Regions from separate parts of the Homo sapiens genome. Here region 2 is linked to region 1. The links are contacts of gene promoters, found by promoter capture Hi-C in blood cells and fetal thymus (Javierre and others, 2016). All regions are on one chromosome and are shown on one strand. The core of a region is centred on a gene start or on the middle of the fragment in contact, and the rest is flanking DNA. Distances in the headings are between cores, read along the strand shown. Region 1 holds the start of UPK3A (uroplakin 3A). Region 2 overlaps SMC1B (structural maintenance of chromosomes 1B).

Region 1 (5,456 bases), core at 1,203-3,702:
GGATCCCACAGGCAGGTCCCGTTGGCACCCACCCTGACCAGGTAGGCATTCAGGATCTGTGAGGCCTTGGACACATCCCCAATGGCATCCAGGCTGGGCAGGTCACTGCAGGGGATCAGGTCAAAGGCCACAGCTTTGTAGGGACCTGTCCTCCCACCCTCTGTTTGTAGGAACGTTGAGCCCAGTGGGGTGTTGGTGCTGTCTTGCACTGAGGCATTCCTGGAAATGGCTGCAGAGGCGGTGCAGGGAGTCAGGCTTCTGGCCACTCCGGCTCAGCGACACTCACTCAGTTATTCATCAAATGCCTGATCATCCTTTCTGCCCCAGCTCTGTGCTGGGCACTGGCATCACAGGCATGGGGCAAACTTAGTCTCTGCCCTCTCAGTGCAATGTGGGAGATGGACAAGGATCACCTCCCTGCTTTGGGCGCTGTGTCTGACTCTCGCCTTATCTTGTGACATTCCTGCAACCCCCCATCCCAACAGACCTTTGTCTCTTCATTGCTGAAAGCCCTGGATTCTCTCTTGTGTAAAATGGGAAAGGAAGGTCATCGGTCCAAGGGAAATAACGTGGAGGCAGGACCCAGCTCTCCTCCTTACTAGATGGGTGACCTTGGACAACTCACTCTACCTCTTCAGACCCTAGTCTTCTATGAAATGGGAGAGAAATTCCCTACAGTGCCCGGAGATCAGGCACTTTAGTTTATAGTCAATAAACACATGCTGAAAGAAGAAAAGGATGGTCCCGAATGAGCTGTTGTAAATGACTGGCTGCTAGAAATGCAAGAGTTGATGTTGGCTTGTCTCAGAAGCTCAGGATCCCCTCCAGGGCAGGGGTTGGGGCTGGGCCACAGCAGCAGGTCCAAATGCATGGTTTTGTCTCAGAAACACCAATCTTGAGCCACCTTTCGAAGCCTCAGGAAGGACCTTGGGCTTGGGGACTAGAGAGATCAGGATTCACTCTCCAGCCCTGGGAGGTCCAGGGGGGGTTATTCCACCTCTCTGAGCCTTGCTTCCCTGCTCTGTAATGGGGATTGGTAATAGCTACCTTACAAGCTGGTTGTAGATACTAGCTCTATGGTGTGCAAAGTGCCTGGTATGGTGTAGGTGTTCAGTGACTGGTGGTGTTATTACTTCCCTCACTAACTGGATGTCCCTGCAAGGCAAGGACAGGTCTGTGGCTGCAGTACCTGTTTAATGAGACGACTACAGGCATGGAGGGTTCCTCTATCTGCCTCCTTCCCTCCTCCCTGCAGACAGGTCAGAGCCCCTTTTGGAGTAGCCAGAGGGAAGCAGGACCCTTACCTGAGTCGACCAGGACATACAGGTAGACCTCGTGGGTGCCAGTGAGGGCCTCTTTGCTGTCAAACATGCAGAGAGGCTTTTCCAAGGCCACAGTGGTAAGTGTGGGGTTGTTGGTGGCGAAAGTCACACTGGCCAGTTGGGGCTGCAGGTTCACAGCTGGAGGAGGCAGTGAGGATGGGAACTGACCTCCGGCAGAACTGTCCACACCCACTCTGCTTGCAGTTACTGAGCACGTGTTGTGTGCCAGGCCCTGGGCTTCACCCTCCCCCTGGGCCACCGCATAAGCTGTCTCAGACACTGCCCCCTGCCCAGTCATCCTGCTCAGAAATGGAGCGGTCGGGCCAAACTGCTGCCTTCTCTCCCTGCTGCAGACACTCAGTTGCCAAGAACTCCACTGCCCCTCCTAAGCATCTCTCCATGCCATCGGCCCAGCCCTCCTCCGTCCCACCTTCCTCACCTGGGCCCTCCCCCCACATGCAAGTCTGACTGCCTCATTCTCTGGCTATGGCCCTCCCATGGTCCCCCAGCGCCCCCTGACGAAGTCCAGCCTCTCTGGAAAGGCAGTGAGGTCCTGAAGTTCTGGGCTTTGCTTTGTTCGGTCTCCAGCCTCACCCCTTCCCCCACAGGCTCCCCTCACCCCAGGCTCCAGCTGGTCCCATGGACTGGCAGTTCCCAGGACAGCCCAATATTGTCTCCCCTCCATGAACTTGCCCATGCTGCTTCCTCGGCCGAAATATCTCTCTATCTGCCCCCGTCCAGGCGTCACCATGGGGCTGGGGCTAGTCCCTTCTCTGTCCTACCGCAGCCCCCCTGCATGTTGGTCTCTTGCAACACACATCGCAGGGCTGCAGCCATCTGTGAGCCCTCGGATTCCCAACAGAGGAGGCCCGTAAACGTTGGCTATCACTATTATTCATAACAGTAATATCTGGGTCCCCAGCGCCAGGAATCAGGGTCCAGGCGGCGGGCGCCCCAGGGCAGAGCTGCCCGCTCTTTCTGGGCTCAGCCCCCTCCTGCCCTTCACCGCCTACCCGAGCCGAACCGCAGGCAGCCGAGGGCCAGCAGGGCCCAGAGCGGAGGCATCGCCCGGGAGGAGCCGCCAGAGCGCGGGGCGGGCGGTCCAGCGAGCAGGCGCGGGCACCAGACCTGTCCCTGCCAGGGCACCTGCCAGCTCTGGGCCCTCGGCGCGCCCCGCCCCCGCCTGGGCTGGCCAATCCGCGGCCTCCTCGCGCGCTATTTGCATACGGCCCTGCCCCGGGCTTCCCCGACCCGTGCGCGGTGCCCCAGGGCGCAATCCCACCGGGCAGGACCTTCTCCAGCCCGCATCAAAGCGCCTACTGTGTGCCCAGGCCAGGGCAGCCCTTCCACAGCGTCTCTCACCAATGGGACCTTGAGGGCAAGCCACTCCCACTTGGAGCCTCAGTTTCCATACTGTAAAATGACGCTAATTTCTACAACTATTTATGGAGGCTCTATTACGTGCCAAACACTCACTGGGCACTCGCGAAACAAAATGGGTTGACCAGTAAAGGTGATATCCTGGAAAACGAAGTCCAGGCCTGGGAGCTATCCAGAGACCCTAGTATGACGCCTAGTATGACCCCTTCGGTTCACAGGTACAAGCCAAGGCCCGGGAGGCTGGGGGGTGGGGCAGGGGGTAAGTATTGGAGCGTGGTGGGGGGCGCGGGGACAGGGACTCACCCCCGGCCGCGCTTGGTCTCCTGGAGACACTGAGGCTGGTGGAACCCAGGAGTCCAGTGCTCAGCCCAGGGCTGCCTCCAAAGGGATGGAGCAGGGTGTTAATGCCTACTTCTTAAAGGGGCGTTTGAAAATTATGATGGACTCCTCACCATGACTGTGCGGTTCCCTCCATCACAAGAATCTGTGCACATCTCTGGATGCACCTTAAATCAATTTTACATTTAAGAAATAAAAGTAAGTCAACAAGGATAGGAAAAAAACAACAGAAGAGGGGCAAGGAGGCTCATGCCTGTAATCCCAACACTTTGGGAGGTCAAGATAGGAGGATCCCTTGAGGCCAGGAGCTAGAGACCATCCTGGGCATCATAGTGAGACCCCATCTCTACCAAAAAAAAAAAAAAAAAAATTAGCTCAGCCTAGTGGGGCATGCCTGTAGTCCCAGGATTGCTTGAGCCCAGGAGGTCGAGGCTACAGTGAACTATGATCATGCCACTTTGAGCTATGATTAAAGCTGCAATAACAGAGCCAGACCCTGTCTCTTAGAAAAAAGATAAAGAAAATCAACAGAAACTAATTAATCTCTGTATGACGTTGATGACATAACCTCACTTGCAGAAAAAGAATAAAACGATCTGAGTAATTATAGAGCTGGGTTGTCCAGGGGTACCTCCTTAGTGGAGTACACTCTAAGAACTGGGAGGCCTGTGACAGAACCCCAAACCTCACTAGTGACTTTGTTATTGGCAGTGGGGAGGGCGGAGCCATTCCGAAGCAACTTTGGGTTATCCTAGGATTGGTGGTACCAGAACCCAGATTCTCACTGTAGGATGAGGGAGATTTGGAATGGAGGAAGGAAGCACATGAGGTCAGTGTGTCCCATTATTGGGGATGTTCCATTTCATCATTTGGTAAAGTTGGTATCTCTGGATTAATGTATGTCTTGTTCCCTAAAAATCTTTTTTTTCTTTTTTTTTTTGGGGGGGACGGAGTCTTGCTCTGTCACCCAGGCTGGAGTGCAGTGGCGTGATCTCGGCTCACTGCAAGCTCCACTTCCCACGTTCACGCCATTCTTCTGCCTCAGCCTCCCGAGTAGCTGGGACTACAGGCACCTGCCACCATGCCTGGCTGATATTTTGTATTGTTTTAGTAGAGACGGGGTTTCGCTGTGTTAGCCAGGATGGTCTCAATCTCCTGACCTTGTGATCCACGCACCTCAGCCTCCCAAAGTGCTGGGATTACAGGCGTGAGCCACCGCGCCCGGCCCTTGATCCCTAAAAATCTTTCCCCAGCTGGATGCGGTGGCTCACGCTTGTAATCCCAGCACTTTGAGAGGCCGAGGTGGGCAGATCATGAGGTCAGGAGTTTGAGACCAGCCTGGCCAACACAGTGAAACCCCTTCTCTACTAAATATACAAAAAAACCCAAAAAACTAGCCAGGCGTGGTGGCAGGCGCCTGTAGTCCCAGCTACTTGGACATCCATGTCCCGCCCAAAAGGTTTAACTTGAATCTCATCAATAGGAAACCATCAGACAGTTCTCAGCCTTTTGTTTTGTTTTGCTTCTGTCTTTCCTGATGTGAACATTTGCAAAGCATCCAGTCCAGCTGGTTTGCAGAAAGTCCCTGCATGTGGATCTGTCTGATGGTTTCCTATTGATGAAATTCAAGTTAAACCTTTTGGGCAGGACATGGTCATGACGGTGAGTTCTAATCAGTGCTACTTGGGAGGCTGAGGCAGGAGAATCTCTTGGACCCAGGAGGTGGAGGTTTCAGTGAGCTGAGATCGCGCCGTGCCACTGTAATCCAGCCTGGGTGACACAGTGAGACTCCGTCTCAAAAAAAAAAAAAAAGCAAGCTGAATGTATGACTTCCATTATTTATTTTGTGCTCAAATGTTCCCAGGCCTGGCTGTTGGCAGCTCCTTCCAGCAGCTCTGTGCTAGCTGCTTTCACGCTCCCACCATTCTTTGAGAACCTCTTTACTTTCTGGCACAATAAAATGTCCCGGGCTCCTCTTGACATTCCCTGTCCCAGCTCTGGATTCAGCCATCTCTCCAAGGGGCACTGGTGCCTTTCACTGGAGACTGGAGTTTAAGATCTAACAGTGGCAAGGTGCCTCTTGCAACTGGGTATTACTGCTTCTCGGTCTGTCTCAATGAACCTAGTTTTTTCTTTTTCTTTCTTTCTTTCTTTCTTTCTTTCTTTCTTTCTTTCTACCTTCCTTCCTTCCTTTCTTTCCTTCCTTCTTTCTTTCTCCTTCCTTCCTTCTTTCTTTCTCCTTCCTTCCTTCCTTTCTTCCTTCCTTCTTTCTTTCTTTCTCCTTCCTTCCTTCCTCTCTTTCTTCTTTCTTTGTCCTTCCTTCTTTCTTTCTTTTTTTTTTTTTTTTTTTTGAGACAGTTTTACTCTATTGCCCAGGCTGGAGTGCAATGGGGTGATCTTGGCTCACTGCAACTT
Region 2 (6,118 bases), core at 3,495-5,994, 110 kb before region 1:
GCTCTGGCGCCCAGATGAGGGGAACACAGTGGCACCCAGGCAAGGGTGCTCCTGACCCCAAAGCCCCAGAGGGGGTGTTACAGTGTGCTAATCAGCTCTTTAGTCCTGTCTGCAGCCTGAAGGATGCACGTCCGAAGGCATGTTAACAGCTCTGTCAGCCTCTTGACCCACTCTGGCCCTCAGCTCTGGGGCTTGCTCGGCCCCACCACTGCTTCCTGTCATGTGGGGCAGCTGCCCTCTGCCAGCAGAGGGCAGAGGGCCACAGTGTTTCAGCCTTCTGTGTACCCACGTTCAGTGGGTCCTCAGTTCTTGTCCTGTGTCTAAGAAGAATGAAGCTACACTGGCAATCGAAGAGTGAGGAAGGCAAAGAAGAATTTTATTGAGCTATGAAACAGCTCTCAGCAGAGAGGGGATGCAAGAGGTCATCCACTACCTGAAGTCAGGTGGTTTCTCCCCCAGTGTAGCTGGGTCTGGGGCTTTTATGGACTCAGAATGGAGGAATGTGTGCTGATTGGTTTGTGAGTATGCAAAAAAAGGCTAAAACAACGGCACCACCCTAAAGTGGGTACAACAATGTGAAAAACCAATTAGGGAAGGGTAGGTGTATGTAAAATAGGTGAAGGGTAGGGATCAATCAGAGGTAAGCACACCAAACAGCAAGAGAGTTTCTCAGTCTTGTCTGTGGATTTACCCAGCACTTGTAGCTAGGCTTTAAACTGTCTTTGGCTTGAAGGTCAGGTTTCACTGGGGACCCACCCCTGTCTGTCTAGGATTTGTCTGTCTCCTGCTGCTATCAATCATAGTTCACTGCAGTGTCACTCCTGGGCTCAATTGATCCTCCCGTCTACAGGCGCATGCTACCACACCTGTCTAATTTTTAAATTTTTTGTAGAGATGAGGTCACACTGTGTTGCCTAGGCTGGTCTCAAACTCCTGGGCTCAAGTGATCCTCTTGCCTCGGCTTCCCAAAGTGCTGGGATTACAGGCATGATCCACTGTGCCTGGCCTAAAAGACTGTTTAAAATAGAGCAACAAAAACCTCTATACTAAGGTCTCTGTCCAAAAATCTTAAAAGAGAAAGGAGAATCCAGAGAAAATGATATATTTTTTTCTACTTATATAGTTATAATTATTTTGGTATATATAGTCATAATTGTTTTGGTATTTGGTATATTTGTGATATAAGATTATCATAAAATTGATAAAAGAGATAAACGATAAAAATGTGGTTGTTTGTCGATTACATGTTTTTGCCATCTAGTGATTTATTATAATTAAATCTTGTATAATAAGTTAGAGATTAATTCATCACTGAACATTTTAAAGCACCTTAAGTAATCAGTTTCCTTCTTGTCAATTAAGTGATCATGTCTCCTCAAAGCCACATGTATCTTTAAGTGTTTATGAGAGGAAAAAATGATTACCTTATGAATAATAAGATAAACACTTGAGCCCAGGAGGCCAAAGCTGCAGTGAGCCGTGATTGTGCCACTGTACTCCAGCCTGGGCAAAATAAAAATAAATAAATAAATAAGTTTCAAATATAAATAAATAAATAAATAATAAACAGTTTTTTTAAAGGAAGCTTTCATGCTCACATTATTTTACCGGGGGAAGGTGGTCGATTATGATTTAATTTATATAAAGCAAGCTTTTGGGAAGATTAATTATCTTCTAGTACAGGATTTCATACAAAGAAATTTGCTCTCATGCTTCTTAAGGTGAATTAGCAATTTTTCAATACTGTTTATGCAGCTGGATCGTTATAAAGAACTTAAGGAACAAGTAAGAAAGAAAGTAGCTACAATGACTCAACAACTGGAAAAACTGCAGTGGGAACAGAAGACAGATGAAGAAAGACTGGCATTTGAAAAGAGGAGGCATGGAGAAGTTCAGGTGTCTTGGGTTGTACAGTAATGATTTAGAATCATTCTTAATGAAATTTTATTTCCTTTTTGTACCTGTCTCCAGAATGAATCTCCTTAACCTTACACTATACTGTCTCATTTCATTTATTTCATGATTTGGCAGATGAAGATACAAATATAATAGCCATAATCTGTGATAGTTCTGTGAGTAGAAGAGGCATTTTGTGCAAGGAGAAAAACAAAGGTGGTAACATAGCAGGAATTACTTTTAAAACATTTGTATAATTGTGTAATTGATATGTTATAAAATTATACACTGATTTATGAAAATACACATTGGACATTTTTGCCTTTGTACATGCTAGTTTCTTTTTGGAATAACCTATTCATCTTTACATGTTAAAATCTAGAGTTACCAACACCGCAAAGCCTTCCCTGGCCCTCCTTTTCTTTATATCCCAGCTCCTAAAAAAGCCAAAAATAATTTCTTCCTCATATAACTACCTATTATTATTTGATACGGAGTTTCGGTCTTGTTGCCCAGACTAGAGTGCAATGACGCGATCTCGGTTCACTACAACCTCCGCCTCCCAGGTTCAGGCAATTCTCCTGTCTCAGCCTCCTGAGTAGTTGGGATTACAGGCATGCGCCACCATGCTTGGCTAATTTTGTATTTTTAGTAGAGACAGGGTTTCTCCATGTTGGTCAGGCTGGTCTTGAACTCCTGACCTCAGGTGATCCATCCTCCTCAGCCTTGCAAAGTGCTGGGATTACAGGCCTGAGCCACCGTGCCCAGTCAATTTTTTATCTATATCTAAGGGCTTTTGTCAGATCGCATAAAAATTAAAATTAATTGGTACCTCTCTACTGGACTGGAAGCTTATTAAAGGCAGGATTCTAATTGTGTCCATTGTAAACCTTGCACTTAGTAGATGTCAATAAGTGTTGGTTGAATTGCTGTTGTCTTTTGAATACAAAAAAACAAGAAGAACACATGTAGTTGCAGACAGATGGAGAAGACTTGTGGTAGTCTCCAGTTGGATTTAATGATAAAGTGAATAGAACAAAACTTTCCCGAAATCCTCATCCACAAGGCTATTAGTTGCCCTACAGGTGCCTATATTATTATAACACAAAACCACTCTACTATAATTACTTATTTAATTATCTGTCTCTCCTACCAGACATTAGTTCTTTGAGGGCAGGGACTCTTTCCTGCTTATTTCTGTACCTCTAGTTCCTATCACATGGTAGCCAGTGAATATATTTAGATTGTTGCAAAAGTAATTGCAGTACTTTTGTACCAACCTAATATATTTGTTCAGTACATTAGTTAAGGGGTAAGAACTATATAGATATTTGAAAATAATCTCCTTGAAGTTTGAAGTTACAGAGAGAAATCGCTAGAGATCAAATATCTAGCAAATGGTAAAGATTCAGGAGTTGAACCCTGATCTGTAATTTGCTCTGATAAGTGTTTTCATATAATTATATTTGATATCTTTCAATTTTATAACAGCTTATAATATTATAGTAAGTTCTAGGCATGTAATTTTGTTGGTTTGGAATTGCCGTAATTGATTTTAGATTTTATTTCCTCTTTTAGGGAAATCTAAAACAAATAAAAGAACAAATAGAAGATCATAAAAAACGAATAGAGAAGTTAGAGGAGTATACAAAGACATGCATGTAGGTAGAGTAAAAAAAATTTCTTGCAGCAATTTTCTTTTATTTTTTGAGAGAGGGTCTCACTCCCATCGCCCAGGCCAGAGTGCAGTGGCGCAGTCATGGCTTACGGTAGCCTCAACTTCCGGGGCTCACATGACGCTCCTACCTCAGCCTGTAGCTGAGACTACAGGCACATGCCACCACACCCAGCTAATTTTTTCTATTTCTGGTAAAGATGGGGTTTCACCATGTTGCCCAGGCTGATCTTGAACTCCTGGACCAAGCAATCCACCCTCCTCGGACTCCCAAAGTGCTGGGATTACAGGTGTGAGCCATCGCACCCCTTGCAGCTTTCTTATTTATGTATTTCTTCCTTTTTTTTTGAGACAGGGTCTCACTCTCACCCAGACTGGAGTGCAGTTGCGTGATCATGGCTTACTGCAGCCTGCACCCACTGGGCTCAAGTGATCCACCTACCTCAGCCCCCTGAATAGCTGGTACTACAGGTGTGTGCCACCACACCTGGCTAATTTTTTTTTTTTGTATTTTGTAGAGACAGGTTTTTGCCATGTTGCCAGGCTGGTCTCAAATTCCTAGACTCAAGCCAGCCACCCACTCAACCTCTCAAAGTACTGGGATTACAGGAGTGAGCCACCTGGCCCAGCCACATTTTTCAAATCAACAAAGAATGAGCAAAATCTTTTTTGCCCATGTTTGGTGTCAGGTTTATTGCATTTTTTACCCTTTAAAAATTGATAGAGCACTGCTCTATTCCCCTGCAATGCCAGACAGGAGTATGTTGTACCTGGTAATTCCTAAATTTTGGTTTATCATTTTGCTGTATAATTTGTTGTTATTTTGTAGGGATTGCTTGAAAGAGAAAAAACAGCAAGAGGAAACCCTAGTGGATGAAATTGAAAAAACAAAATCAAGAATGTCTGAAGTTAATGAAGAATTGAATCTTATTAGAAGTGAATTGCAGAATGCTGGGATTGATACCCATGAGGGAAAACGTCAGCAAAAGAGAGCAGAGGTTCTGGAACACCTTAAAAGACTGTACCCAGATTCTGTGGTAATGAGAATGAATAGTTAATTTAAACAAAAAAAACTAAGCTTTCCTGTTTGCTTTCAACAGTATCTTCTCATTTGGGATTAGAAATATTACCATTATTACAAAGCAATATTATTTCAGACATCTTTAAGTTTTGTGTTTGACTCTTTATATTTAAAATGTGACAGTAACTAATTAGGGTAAAACTTCCAGTAGTAGCTGTAGATAACGTAATTATTGGGGAGAAGCTTGACATGAACATAGTACCCAGAAAGTTCAAATTGTGGCCAGTATCCCCAAAAGGACCTGGATGCTGTGAAGTACTCTGAGCCACCCAGACACATAGCCTCAAACCTCATGTTTTTCATGGTTTTATTTGTTTTTGAAATATTTTTTCAGCAGACATCATTGGCATATTTTTATTCTGTAAGTATGACTGTGCATCTGGTATTGCTAGTGTATTTCATTAGCCAAAATACAGTATCACTTGTTGCTTGGGGTGCCAGCATCACAAGATTATTTCCTTTTGTATCGGGGTGGCATCTGATCCTCTTGTCCCTAACATCAGTGTATACTGTGCAGTCCTTATTTTATGATATGGCCTGTTTTCAGCATTTGAGACTGGTAACCACTGCTCTGTTTTGAAACACCTACCGGCCAGGGCAGTGTCTCACGTCTATAATCCTAGCACTCTAGGGGGCTGAGGCTGGTGGATCACCTGAGGTCAGGAGTTTGAGACCAGCCTGGCCAACATGGTGAAACCCTGTCTCTACTAAAAATGCAAAAAGTAGCCGCACATTGTGGCAGGCGCCTATAATACCAGCTCCTCAGGAGGGTGAGGTAGGAGAATCGCTTGAACCCGGGAGGCAGAGTTTGCAGTGAGCTGAGATCACACCATTGCACTCCAGCCTAGGCCACAGAGTGAGACTCTGTCTCCAAAAAAAAGGAAACATCTACCATTGGCCTCCATATCCACACTTTCATGGTTTTCCTCCTATGTCTCTGGCCACCCATCTTCATCTCCTTTATAGCATCTGTTTTGACTTTCTGACTCCTAAATGTTGGTTTCGACTTCTGGATAATGATGGAGGAGTAAATCTAGGTCACAAAATCTAGATCCCCCAATTCCTATCCAAGTGACAAAAACTAGTGAAACACACACACACACACACAACTAGTTAAAAAAAAAATCGACCTGATGCCATAAACTTTAGAAAATGGTGATAATCTAGGATTTAAAAAAAAAAAAAAGTATTGAAGTATAGCATTGCTTTTTCTCAACTCCACAGAAGCTGAACTGATAAATTGACTAATTCCTGAGAATTCTCACCTAGTATTCCTTGATCTAGCAAGAAGCAAACTCACATGTATGTGTTTCCTTTTCCTCTTCTAACTGGAGAGAGATTTAAAAACTGGTGAACTGGGTGCCTGTAATCCCAGCGCTTTGGGAGGCCGAAGTGGATGGATCACTTGAGGTCAGGAGTTTGAGACCAGCCTGGCCAACACGGTGAAACACTGTCTCTACTAAAAA

The links. The method cuts DNA at HindIII sites, captures the fragments that hold promoters and counts their contacts. A CHiCAGO score of 5 or more calls a contact.
Region 2: a fragment that was not itself captured here is called in contact with the fragment with the promoter of UPK3A in region 1 in 3 of 17 cell types (total CD8 T cells, total CD4 T cells and naive CD8 T cells); the score reaches 5.4 in total CD8 T cells.

Annotation. Positions count from the first base shown.
Region 1 is chr22:45,281,945-45,287,400 of GRCh38, reverse strand. UPK3A (uroplakin 3A) reads right to left here and starts at 2,452. Exons shown (of 6, transcript NM_006953.4): 1 at 2,336-2,452; 2 at 1,305-1,460; 3 at 1-229. The coding sequence starts at 2,387. RefSeq lists a silencer at 2,322-2,631. The HindIII fragment of the contact is 17,600 bases long and covers 1-5,456 here.
Region 2 is chr22:45,392,124-45,398,241 of GRCh38, reverse strand. It overlaps SMC1B (structural maintenance of chromosomes 1B), which reads left to right. Exons shown (of 25, transcript NM_148674.5): 7 at 1,756-1,896; 8 at 3,475-3,557; 9 at 4,401-4,608. Among named protein-coding and RNA genes, the nearest start is that of SMC1B, 18 kb to the left of the region's middle. The HindIII fragment of the contact is 186 bases long and covers 4,652-4,837 here.